Linked DNA regions of Homo sapiens: all the other regions are linked to region 1. The links are contacts of gene promoters, found by promoter capture Hi-C in blood cells and fetal thymus (Javierre and others, 2016). All regions are on one chromosome and are shown on one strand. The core of a region is centred on a gene start or on the middle of the fragment in contact, and the rest is flanking DNA. Distances in the headings are between cores, read along the strand shown.

Evidence for each region. Contacts are between HindIII fragments. The CHiCAGO score rates a contact against its expected background, and 5 or more counts as called.
Region 2: a contact is called between a fragment that was not itself captured here and the fragment with the promoter of CNTLN in region 1, in 1 of 17 cell types (monocytes). The highest score is 5.5, in monocytes.
Region 3: a fragment that was not itself captured here is called in contact with the fragment with the promoter of CNTLN in region 1 in 5 of 17 cell types (monocytes, erythroblasts, M2 macrophages and 2 more); the score reaches 11.1 in monocytes.

Annotation. Positions count from the first base shown.
Region 1 is chr9:17,133,360-17,137,433 of GRCh38, forward strand. It overlaps CNTLN (centlein), which reads left to right and starts at 1,681. Exons shown (of 26, transcript NM_017738.4): 1 at 1,681-2,066. The coding sequence starts at 1,707. RefSeq lists an enhancer at 1,962-2,525. The HindIII fragment of the contact is 13,995 bases long and covers 1-4,074 here.
Region 2 is chr9:17,504,922-17,508,995 of GRCh38, forward strand. It overlaps a transcript of CNTLN not described here. Among named protein-coding and RNA genes, the nearest start is that of SH3GL2, 72 kb to the right of the region's middle. The HindIII fragment of the contact is 243 bases long and covers 1,539-1,781 here.
Region 3 is chr9:17,486,002-17,490,075 of GRCh38, forward strand. It overlaps CNTLN (centlein), which reads left to right. Exons shown (of 26, transcript NM_017738.4): 25 at 988-1,065. Among named protein-coding and RNA genes, the nearest start is that of SH3GL2, 91 kb to the right of the region's middle. The HindIII fragment of the contact is 1,469 bases long and covers 1,094-2,562 here.

The DNA of each region.
Region 1 (4,074 bases), core at 431-2,930:
AAAGGATCTTTTTATGATCAGGTGAAATGATGTCCTTTTGAGTGAATGACATACAGCAATTAAAAATGTGCATTAATACTGATTTGGGGCCAAACACGTAACTTATGTGGTTAGACTTCCCAGTCTTAAGTCTAGTGAAATCTCACAGACTATCAAGACCAAATGTTGTATTTCAAGTCACAGGTGTGGAGACAGGGTAGCGATCAAAGTACAGGTTTTCAGAGTTAAGTGGAATTCAGTGAATTCAAAGCCTAGCTTTTCTGATACCAGACATGGCACTTCAGAGAAGTTACAGTAACCTTGCAAGTCTGTTTCCTCACTAGTAAAAATGGAGATATATAATAATCTAATTGAAGGTGACATATGTATTAAGTGAGTTCATATATGAAAAGTGCTTAGCACTGGACTCAGCATATGGTAAATGTTCAGTAGGTTAGCTAGTTCTAAGACAGGCTTATAAACATACTTTTTCTAATGTACTCTTTAATAAGTTTTTGTGAGGAATTCACCTTCAGTTTGAAAGAAGTCCACTTATCTTGGTTGCCTTGGCAGGATTCTAATTGGGAGGGTGTCTTTTGGCATCCTGACTAGATTCTCATGCAGAGATGGTGATATTTTGGTTAAATGAAGTTAACAGTAAAGTGGTCATCTCTCTACTTCTGCTCTCAACCCCCATCTCAGCTTTCCCCAAGTATTCTGGAACCCTTTCTGAAGAAGAGGGCAGTTCTAACTTTCAGGGATGTTCTGGTGCCAGCTCAATATGCATCTCATTAATCTTATCAATAGTAACAAAGTATTTGAAGGGCAAAGAAAGATACGATTACTACCTATTTGAAGTTTATAAAGAAAGCCAGAAGAAAAAGAAAAAAAAGAGAACAAAAGATAAAGTAGGTCTTGTTTCTTCATCCACGCTCCAAATTACTGATTTCAAACTGCTCCAAGGACCCAAACTGTTCAGCAATGTGGGCTACACTTCCTCTGATATCCAGCCAACGCATAAAGAAGCTGACATAAAAACTCAAAGGAAATCATGACTCCTGCAAAACAAAAGACAAAGGGTGTACAAAGGATCATCATTCAAGTTGGAAACCTGCTTGATAGTCCCAGATCAGCACAAGGCTTTCCACATCTCCTTGACATTAGTCAGCTGGATGTCAGCTGTACTAAAGCAGTTTTGCCAAGGGGTGTGAAGAAAACACTTAAGTGTAAAACGTATTCCTTGATCCTCAAGGAGCTTACAACAGGGCTGGGGAGATTAGCCGTGTAACTGACACTCCAGGGCGGTCAATGAAACGTGTCACACGAGTTGGCAGGGGCCTTGAAGGAGAGGGATTTCACAGTTAAGGATCATTTGGGGCTGGGGGCTTGTCAAGGAAGGCTTTAAGAGGTGGGATGTAAGTGGCAGGCAGGGCTTTAGGTGGGCGGGAAATCCAGGCGATCCTGGCCAAGGACTCAGGCACAGGACGCTGGGATGGCCTGCCCGGCGGACCGGCCTTACCCTTTCGGGCCACGGCGCGTGCGTACCCCAAGGCTCGCGCTGGGCGCATTGCCCGCGGGAAGCCGGCCAGGACCAGAGAACACGGGACACCGCGGGCCAAGGCGGGAAAAGCCTCGCGCATGCGCGGTTCGGCGTTCCGGGCTCGCCGGGTTGGGGAAAGGGAGGTGGAGTTTCCAACAGGGAACTTGACCCGTTAGCAGCCGCAGCCATGGCGGCGCGTTCGCCTCCCTCACCGCACCCTTCGCCCCCAGCGCGACAGCTGGGCCCCAGGTCCCCACGTGTTGGGCGGGGAGCTGAAGTACACGCAATGCGCAGCGAGGCCTCGGGTTTTGCCGGCGCAGCGCGGGAGGTGGTCGCGGACGAAAGTGATAAAATCTGGGTGGGTGAAGAAGGGTCAGGGGGCCGGCGAGGGCCTGGGGGGGCAGCTCCGGCTCATGCTCCCCTCCTCAGCGCGCCCATGGGGTCCAGACGGCTAGAGGGCATCTCGGTAGAGGAGGCGATGGTGACCCGGACGCAGCTGCTGGAGGAAGAGCTGAGCAGCCTAAAGGAGGAGTTGGCCCTGTGTCAGGTATCGAGGAGTCTCGCAGTCCCCCTTTCCCCACCACAGCGGGGCCGGGACCCGTGGGGAGGCGCGCCTTTCTCCCTCTGCCTTGGGACCTACCCCGCCCAGCGACGCTCCCTGGCAGATGCACACCCTGCTTCGCTCGCGGCCGGGGGCTGGAGGGACGCGGCTGCGCCCGGCTCCCCAAACCCGGGCCCCTGCCCCTTTCCGAACTGCGGCCAGACAGGCTTCGCCTCCGCGCCCGGGTTTGGTTTTGGTCACTTGGATACTCGCAGTCGCATCCTCTCCGCTTCCCCCCCAAGCCCAAGTTCTTGGTGGTGACGGTAGCTGATACCTGCCGGGGGCCCAGGAGTGACATGCAGTCCACTAGTTGAAATGAACAGGAAAGTGTAAACACTTCGGTTAGAGTAAAATCCATCGATGAAGGAGCCTGTTTTTAAAATTTCAAACCCACACTTGGCTTTGTTTTTACCCAGTCAAACTTAAGTTGTAAACACAGACGAGTAACGTTTAGAAAGTCTCAGAGCCGGGAACTTAACAATAGATGATGCTTGGTACTTGTTTATTAACCAGCTATGGTAATTCCGCGGTCCTTGAGTGAGAAATCACATTTTCATGTGATCTTGCCAGTGAAAAACATTTGCTAAATCAATTGCATTAAAATTACTTTCCTGTTTGTAGAGTTTTTGTAAGGATGGACTTGACTATACTCATGTTCAAAGAGATTGAATTTTCCTTTAGTTTTGCATCCTTACCATCATCTCTTTTGATTTTACCAGAACCTTTAGATAGGGTTGGGAGATTGGATGTGGGAAACTCACTGAACAGTAGATCTTTAAGTCACTCTGTCTTCAACTTAGAAACCAATTAGGAGCTGCTGAACATCAAAGTAACTTTGTGAACAGTATCATCAGTTTAATAAAACAGTTCATGAAATTCATTCTCTGTCGCCCAGGCTGGAGTGCAGTGGTGCAGTCTCAGCTCACTGCAAGCTCCGCCTCCCGGGTTCACGCCATTCTCCAGCCTCAGCCTCCCGAATAGCTGGGACTACAGGTGTCCGCCACCACGCCTGGCTAATTTTTTGTATTTTTAGTAGAGATGGGGTTTCACCGTGTTAGCCAGGACAGTCTCGATCTCCTGACCTCGTGGTCCGCCAGCCTTGGCCTTCCAAAGTGCTGGGATTACAGAAATTCATTCTCTCATAGTTTGTTCTGTTGGATTCTTTTGCCCATTTTATAGGTCCTTGCTGACTGAGTGAAGGGTGTAAAAATGGGACCATCTTCAAATTGAATGTGCCTTTGGTTAAACAAGGTTGGGACATTTAATATGGTGCCCTCTTTTCGTTTTACCATTTTTCTGTTCTTCGTTGGATAAGGAGCAAAGGGATAAATAAATGACAACAATGAATTGAAGCATTTGTCATCTGCAGACCTCACCCTTTGGGGAGTTTTAAGATGTGAACCCATGATAAAGGCCTTTGATACTCTGAGTCCTAATCTAAGACACTCTTTGGCATATTTTCCGCACTCTTTCCTCCCACTTCTGCCTCCCCACATAGTTAGGCCTTTAGCTGGCTAAAGAGCTAAGATACTTTTTTATGACCGACTTGGTTAAGGAAGTCAGTCTATTGGAAACAGCCTGATGAACCTCTTCCCACAAATACTTACATTCTTTAAAAATGTGGCTCCAAACATGGTGTTGGCTTTTGTGACCTCGGACATATATAGACTAGGAAAATGATTGACATACTCTTGGCAAATGTAAGAATACAGAGATGGTCATAATAGTCTAGAATGATGATCTCTTAGATTTTGTAATATTAATACTCTTATATAATTGTAGGCAGTATCCCGCACCATAAAAATCTTAGTCAAATCAGACTCCTGCTCTTCGGGAATCTTGGGGAAAAATAGTAATTGAACTCCCAATTGTTTTGTAAAAAGCATTTAGGTGATTAAATATTCACTTTTATATCTTTTAAAGTATACTCTCCCGCTTATTTATTCAGCTAGAG
Region 2 (4,074 bases), core at 410-2,909, 370 kb after region 1:
TGTGGTACTTTGTGACTGCAACAATAGAAAACAAATAGAATTTGCCAGAAATCTGTTTAGAAGTTTTACATCTATGTTCATGAGGGATATTGGTCAAAAGATACACAATCAAAGCTGGTTCAATCAGTGTAAACCACCATATTAAGAGGCTAAAAATACCCCACAATCATAAAATTTGATATAGAAAAAGCATGTGACAAAAATTGGCACTCATTTATTTTAAAAAAAACTCAGAAAACTATAAATAGGAACTTCTCAATTTGATAAGACCATCTTTTAAAAGCCTACAGCTAACATTGTATGTAATGATGAAGACCAAACACTTCCCCCTATAATCAGGAAGAAGGCAAAGATTTCAACTCTCACCACTCTCTCTCAACATAACGTGGGAAATTCTAGCCAGCCTAATAAGGCAAGAAAAGGAAATAAAAGGCATCCAGATTGGAAAGGAAAAAGAAAAATAACCACTCAAAACAAAAACAAAAAACTTTACAGAATTAATGAGTCCAGCAAGATCTCAAGATGCAAAATCAACATGGAAAGATTGTGTTTCTATACACTAGTAAGCTAGTAAAAAAATGTGGAAAATGAAATTAAAAATACAATACAATGTACAATTTCCCGAAAAAGAGAAATACTTAGGTATAAAACCTGCAAAACATGCATAGTACTTGTGTATGAAAATTATAAAACACTAGCGAAAGAAATGAAAAAGATCTAATAAATTAGGAGACATAGTAAGACCATGGGTTAGGATACTTATGTTAAAGATGCCAGCTGTCTCCAAATTTATATAGAGATTTAACACAATTCCTACCAACATCACAGCAAGAGATTTAGGAAATAGAGAACATTTTTCTAAAATGTATATGGGAACTCAGAAACTAGAATAGCTTTTAAGTAAAACTAAGAGCATAATAGTGGGAGACATCACTTTACCCAGTTTCAAGGTGTATTAAATAGCTACACTAATCAGGAGTGTGTGGTGCTGGCAGGTAGAGGGCTGGACAAATAAATCAATGAAAAAGAATAGAGAACCAAGAAATACACCTAAGCAAATATGCCCAACTGATTTGAGACAAAGGTTCAAAAGCAATTCAATAGAGGCATAATCACCTTTTTGACAAATGGTCCTGAAGCAGTTGGGCATCTTGGGTTAAAAAAAAAAAAAAATCTTGACCTAAACCTCACACATCACACATTCAGACATAAATTACATCAAAATGGGTCAACATTTAAATGTAAAATGTAGAATATAACATGAGAGAAAATCTTCAGGACCTCAGATTTGGTGAAGAATTTCTAGCCATGACACCAGAAGCATGATGCAAAAAAGAAAAATTGATAAGTTTTACTTCATCAAAATTAAAAACTTTCACCCTGGGAATAGACAAGCTACAGACTGGGAGAAAACATTTGCAAATCACTGACAAAGGATTCATATCTAAAATAAACAATTCCCAAAACTCAACAGTAAACAACAACAAGGCAGTCCTCTGTGAGTAACATTTATTTATATCCTGGGAAATTATGAAATAAGCTTGGGGCTATGGCTGCTATAAGTGAAAGTTGTCATGTTTATGTGTGTTTCAGAATATGGGACAGCGGAAAGAGTGAATTTCATTCTTCAACGCTAGCCCTTACTCATCTACTGACAGCTTTGCCTATTTTAATTTCTTCTCCATATTATGCAGGATTCTTCCCAGTAGCAAAAATGACCTTTGGATTTAGAGGGTCGAAAGTGAAAATTACTATAATAAATTTGTAGCCACAACAAGAGAAGCTTACTTAATGTTCTCAAATAACTGTAAAAACAACAAAATGTACCAGAAAACATTTGAGAGAGCCTTTTATTGGCCTATGTTCAGAAGAGTTCATGAGATACATGGGCAGAAGAGTTGCTATTTTTTTCCTCTTAAAAAATTTTTAATTGATACATAATTTTACATACGTATGGGGTAAAATAGAATGTTTCAATGCATGCGTACATTGGGTAATAATTAAATCAGGGTAATTATATCTGTCACCTCAAACATTTATTACTTATTTGTCTTAAGAACATTCAAAATCCTGTCTTTATTTTATTTTAGATTCAGTGGGTACGTGTGTAGGTTTGCTAAATGAATACATTGCATGATTCTGAGCTTTGAGTTTCTAATAATCTCATCACCCAAGTAGCAAACAGTACCTGATACATAGTTTTTCAACCCTCTCTCCCTCCTTTTCCCCACTTTTGGAATCCCCAGTGCTTATTGTTTCCATCTTTGTATTTGTGTGTACCCAATGTTTATCTCCCACTTTTAAATGAGAACATGAGGTATTTTGTTTTCTGTTTCTGTATTAATTTGCTTAGGTCAATGACTTCTAGCTCCATTTCCACTGTTGCACAGGCTATGCTTTTGTTCTTTTTTATGGCTGCATAGTATTCCATGGTGTATATATCTTCCACATTTTCTTTATCCAATCCACCATTGATAGGCACTTGGGTTGATTCCATATCCTTGCTATTGTGAAGAATGCTGCTATGAACATACAAAAGTAGATATCATTTTAATAGAATGATTTACTTTCCTTTGCATATATAACTACTAATTGGGTTACTGGGTCAAATAGTAATTCGGTTTTTAGTTCGAAGAGTTGCTATTTCTAATTCCTACATTTCCATGCACGTAACTGCCTTTGGTATTAACACAAATTTATATAAGTGGCTTAATATAATGGATAAAAATGACTTTTTTGTTGCCTGTGACATGAAATCTTTCATCAAAAAGATGATTTTTTAAAAAAGCTTCGACTTTTAATTTTTAAATACACAGACATATTTGATCAGAAATTTTTTTCTGCTCACCAAGGAATGGTAGACACTACAAACACTTCTGCGCATAGTCCAATCCTCAGTTTCCTTCTTTCTTCAGCAGACACAGTCTACAAAACCAGAGTTTTGACATCAGCTCCTTCCAACACTTTTTGCCACATTCAACTTTCCTTTCACCTAGGAAATGATCATTAGGGATAATTTAAAAGAAGGTGGTGCCCCTGCCTTCTGTACTCTTACATTTTGTGTTAGAGAAAATGTTGCTCTTTGTTAATGCTGACCCTAGCGTGAAGGCCTCAGAGTCACCCAGAGAGAAGTATTAGAGACTTCCCTGGGTTCATGCTCCACCCTGTAGGTCAGAATTGTTTTAGCATACAACCCTCTGTGTTCTTCCTTAGTGCACTAACCGTGACACTCTCCTCATGAATTCAGTGATGGACCCAAGGCAGAAAAAGAAAAGCATAGTCAAGACATTTTTATTTTCCAGATTTTTCTTTATTTTTATATGACATTTTATTTCAAGATAATTTAACATTCACAAGAAGTTGCAAAAATAGTAAGCAGAGTTTTTGAATACACTTCACCCAGATTCCCTGAATGGTAACATCTTACATAACCACAGTACACTGTCCAAACCAGGAAGATGGCATTGGTACAATATTTTTAACTAAAATATAGACCATAGATGGATTTAAGTTTTTACATTCACTTCGTTGGAGTGTTTTTAGGACATTTTGTCACATGTATAGATTATACAAGCATTACCACAATTGAGATACAGAACTGTTCCATCAGCACAAAGACTATTCCTCATGTTACCCCTTAGCACTCACACCCTCCCTTTAACTCTAATCCCTGGCCGCCACCGACCTGTTCATCATCACTATAATTTTGTCACTGAGAGTGTTATATAAATGGAATTATGGAATGTATAGCCTTTTGACATTGGCTTCTTTCAGAGAGCATAATGTCCTTGAAATCCATCTAAATCATTGTATATATCAATAGCCCACTTATTTTTAATTGCTGAGTAGCATCTCATTATATGGACATACCACAATTGGTTTATTCATTTACCCGTCAAAGGACACGTGCAATTACACACCACTCTTGAAGGTCAGGGACTAGGAAAGAATATGATTGAAAAATTGGTTACAATGAAATCTGGAGAAGAGGTTTTTAGATGGACCCCTCTGAATGAGCAAATAATGTGAAGATATTTACATCCCATGTCATGCTCACCAAAGGGTGACCTCAGC
Region 3 (4,074 bases), core at 578-3,077, 350 kb after region 1:
CTGTAATATGCATGTCACACAATCTTAAATCAAGTCCCTCCTGAAAGAATAAGAGATATAAACACACTGTTCTAAGAGGGATAGGTACATTTTGATATATTTACTAGATTTCATTATAGACCAGAGCTTATTTAGACTGATCCTGTCATCTTCCAGAGGTCCAAGGATTTGCCCAAGCAGAGCCCAGATCACCTGATTTATGTTCTTTACACTATATCGAACTGTAGTAAATTCACATCAGAAACTGTGATAGCCTATCTGAAGTGCCTAGCATGATGCCTGCCATACAGTAAATTTCAACAAATAATAGTTTCTCACGCCCTTCCCTTCTTGGAAAGTCAGTTTTTTTTTTCGTAAACTGAAATTACAATTTCAAGTGAATCATCAACTGTACGTGTGAATACATTTCAATTCCAGAAATATTCTGTCATGATAATTGATGGGTTGAAAATACTTTGTGACCTATAGCACTTTAAGTTGGAGTGTCCCTGGCCTATCAGTAGATTATTGGATAGTTTGAATCAACAAGCATTTAAATATACCGGAGTCATGCCATGTTCTATTCTGTTTGTAATGAACAATTACTCCTTAGTTATCTGCTGACAAGTCAGATTTTGGAATATTAGGTTTTGTATTATCTCATGAGAGTCACCTGTAAATGATTCTTTTATATAACTCCATCTGATTTTTCACTTTAATTGCTTTCACCCCCATATTAGCCCCTACTTTGAGCTCCACTGTGAAGGTAGAAATTAAATATTTCTGAATTACTGTGAAGTATATAAATATAGCTATATCTTCCGTAGTACGTATCGATAAATTAAATTTTAAAGAGCATGGACTTAAATATTTCTACTTTGAGATGACAGACTGTTCTTTGTTGAATCTAATTCTACTGATATTACTCCAGATTTATTCAGTATCTAATAGTATAAACAAGTTCATATAAATTTCGTTAACACCAGTGTTTTTATTTTTTTTCTTCAGGAAATTGAAAAAACAAAAATTGATGCTGAAAATGACAAGGAATGGATGTTGTACATTCAGAAACTTCTTGAAGGACAGGTATTTCATTTTTCTGTTTCATATATTAAGCTTCCAAATAAGAATTCCAAGCCTTACATTTTCACCAGATGTCTAACTTTTTGTAAACACTTCCCCATTGTTTACTTCTGTTAGGTAAAGAAGTATTCCAATAGGTAGAAAGGAAAGTTAACCCTCTATTTGTACTTTGGGACTTAACAAATGAAACAAATACCTTGGGATAGAGCCAACATGGGTCTTAGCAAATGCATTAATTAAATTATTGAGTCAACCTCTGTGCTTGCTAGACTGAAAAGGATCCATTCTCCCAGACCTCTTAGGAAAAGAGATTCTTTATTATGTGTCTTTAAAGTTAGTATTTGATATGGACACCTGAGGAGTTCATGGGTTTCAGTGACCTTTTACTATGGACCTGTTTCCAGTCAATTCATGTTTTCCTCACAGCCAGACAGCTGTTTATTACTGTGTCTTCCCGCATTCTCTACAATATTTTCTACTGAGACCTCGAGCAGCTTGTTAGTGGGAAGTAAATATTGATTTGGCATCCTGTCAATGCAGAAAGAATGAAAAAATTTCCACCAGAGGCCCCTCAAACATTTTCCTATCGACATTTTCTGGGCCGAGTGGAAAGCTGCATAGAGGATGACAAGGCCAAGACGAGTTGAAATCCCTGAGGGGTCTGTTGAGACTGCTGCTGTGACCTGTGTGATACTTTTTCTTCCCTTTCAAGTATTTTTTTAATACACATATAGTCTGCTGGGATGCGCCCCTCTTGTAAGTGATCAAGGGCAGTTTATTGGCAGGTGAGAGCCCTGCTTTTCTAGTCATAGCCAGCTTTTGTTTTGACATCACTGACAGCATGTAATGTATTCTAAAACTTTTTCATTATAGTTCTTTCGGCTTAACCTAATTTTTTATTTTTTAAATGGACTGGAATAAATAAAAGCCAAAACATATTTGTCAAAATACCCCAAAAATTGTCCTGTGATTTTTGGAAAGTCATTGTAAATGTTTCTGTGTAAAGATTAAAAATAGAAACTGATATTAAATGCAATTATTTTACATTTATATTAACAAGTATCAGTTTCCGTGCTTTTAGTAAAGTCGAGAATAAATAAATAGTATATCAACAATTCATGTTAGTATCAGTTTGATATATTTTTGAAACATTGTCTGGAATCACTTTAATAACAATAGGTGATTAAAAATCATTTGCTGAAAGTTGTTTAAGTGTAGATGTGCAGGTGCTAGACAAAGCCTTTTACACTGACTACTTGCTTTTGAGAACAGAGGCCATTTCTTAATCATGTGGTACTCCCAGAACCTAGCTCAGTGGCTGACACATCAAAGAATTCAATAATGATTGTAATGAGGTTTTTCTTTTCAACTTGAAAATGATAAAAATAAACTTTTTAATGAATTTTTAAAATGTTCACTTTGTAAATATGGCCTGTATTTATTTGAATTAGAAATTTTATCATAATTATGACTATAAAAATAATAAATCTGTACGTGTAAAGCTTTGTTAAATTTTACTAAAACTGTACTGACACTGGACCTGAGTTTTTTTGGTTAACACGTGGAGAGGTATATACATACATTCTGCATTAGCTGAATGTATGCTTATTCTGTCCAGTGAGTATAAAAAAATTCTGTTGAAAATGGCATCAGACTGCTTAATACTGCAGCTTGATATAGTGCCTTTTTGTGCCACTGAGCCTGGACTCTGGAATATAATTGCCAGGCAGTATTGATTTAATTGCCCAGGTTTATTTGTGGACTCCTAATTATTGACTGGAGGTAAATTTAATGGAGCAGCCTTTATGAACACTGGGAAACCGCTGCTGTTGCTGTTATACGTAATGAACTGCATCATGTGCCTTTAGATCATTTTTCAAGCTAATTTTATTCCACTGTGACAGTATGATAACATTTAAAAAGTCAAAGACTTTTTATTTTTATTACTGACATAGGTGGTTTTGCTGATGTCTTTGAATTTTGTGAGAGAACAAATAGGTACTTCATTGGTTGCACTTGAATGTCACTTTATAATTACACCCAAGAGAAAAATCTATAAAATAGAAAACACCTTTTTTTTTTAGCCTACTTTTCTTCTCTCTCAATCCAAGCAATTATATTTGTCCTGAATTTTAGAAAAGGTTTTCTTTGCCCACCAGCCTTTTTTTAGAGTCTGAGTTACACTCACAGGATTGTATGGGCAAAAGTGTAAATATGTTCATTCATACATTTTGTTTAGTTTATGGCTTATTGCTCATTGGGTATGAGCTTACATCATCTTCACATTGTGGAATAACTGAAGACATTTTCTAAAAATTACTAATTAGTCCAATGTTGATTTTTTTATTCAAATATTTTGATAAAATTATTGGAAAACCTCTCTTTTATGTCCTCTCTGTGTGTTGGGTGCTGTATGTGATCAAATCCTGAGATTATCAGGGTGAATCTGGCCCTGTGATTTTGTCTTTTGTTTGATTGGGCCACAGAATTGCTTTCTGTTAAAAAAAATATTTTTTTTTCTGCTTTTGTTTGATAGAATGTCATATTGATAAAATATTCACCACAAAATAAAAAGCTGTTCTTCCATGTGGTAATGTGGAACTAATAATAATATGATACCTACTGCTGTTGTTAGCTACAAGTGCATGAGAACTAAAAGGTCTAAAATTTTAACTTATGTATATTTGATACAGAACTCAGATATATGCCATTATTTCAAGTAGTTGTGATGCTATTGGTAATTTTTTATATTTGACATTTATCTGCAGCTTGTCTTTGTCCCCAGAGATTTCTAGTAATAAGAACCACACTGAAAAAATCTTACTAAGTCTACTTTCATCTTTCTATGGCATAGCTGCCTTTAATTTCTTTGAACATTTTTAATCTGTATAAATCTCTCTTTTCACATTGATATATTTTTTAAAACTTGTAATTTATGGCAGAGACAAAGAAGCAAATTGATAATTAAAGCAGGATGGGAGAAACCACCAAAATTACTTTGTCTATAGTTTA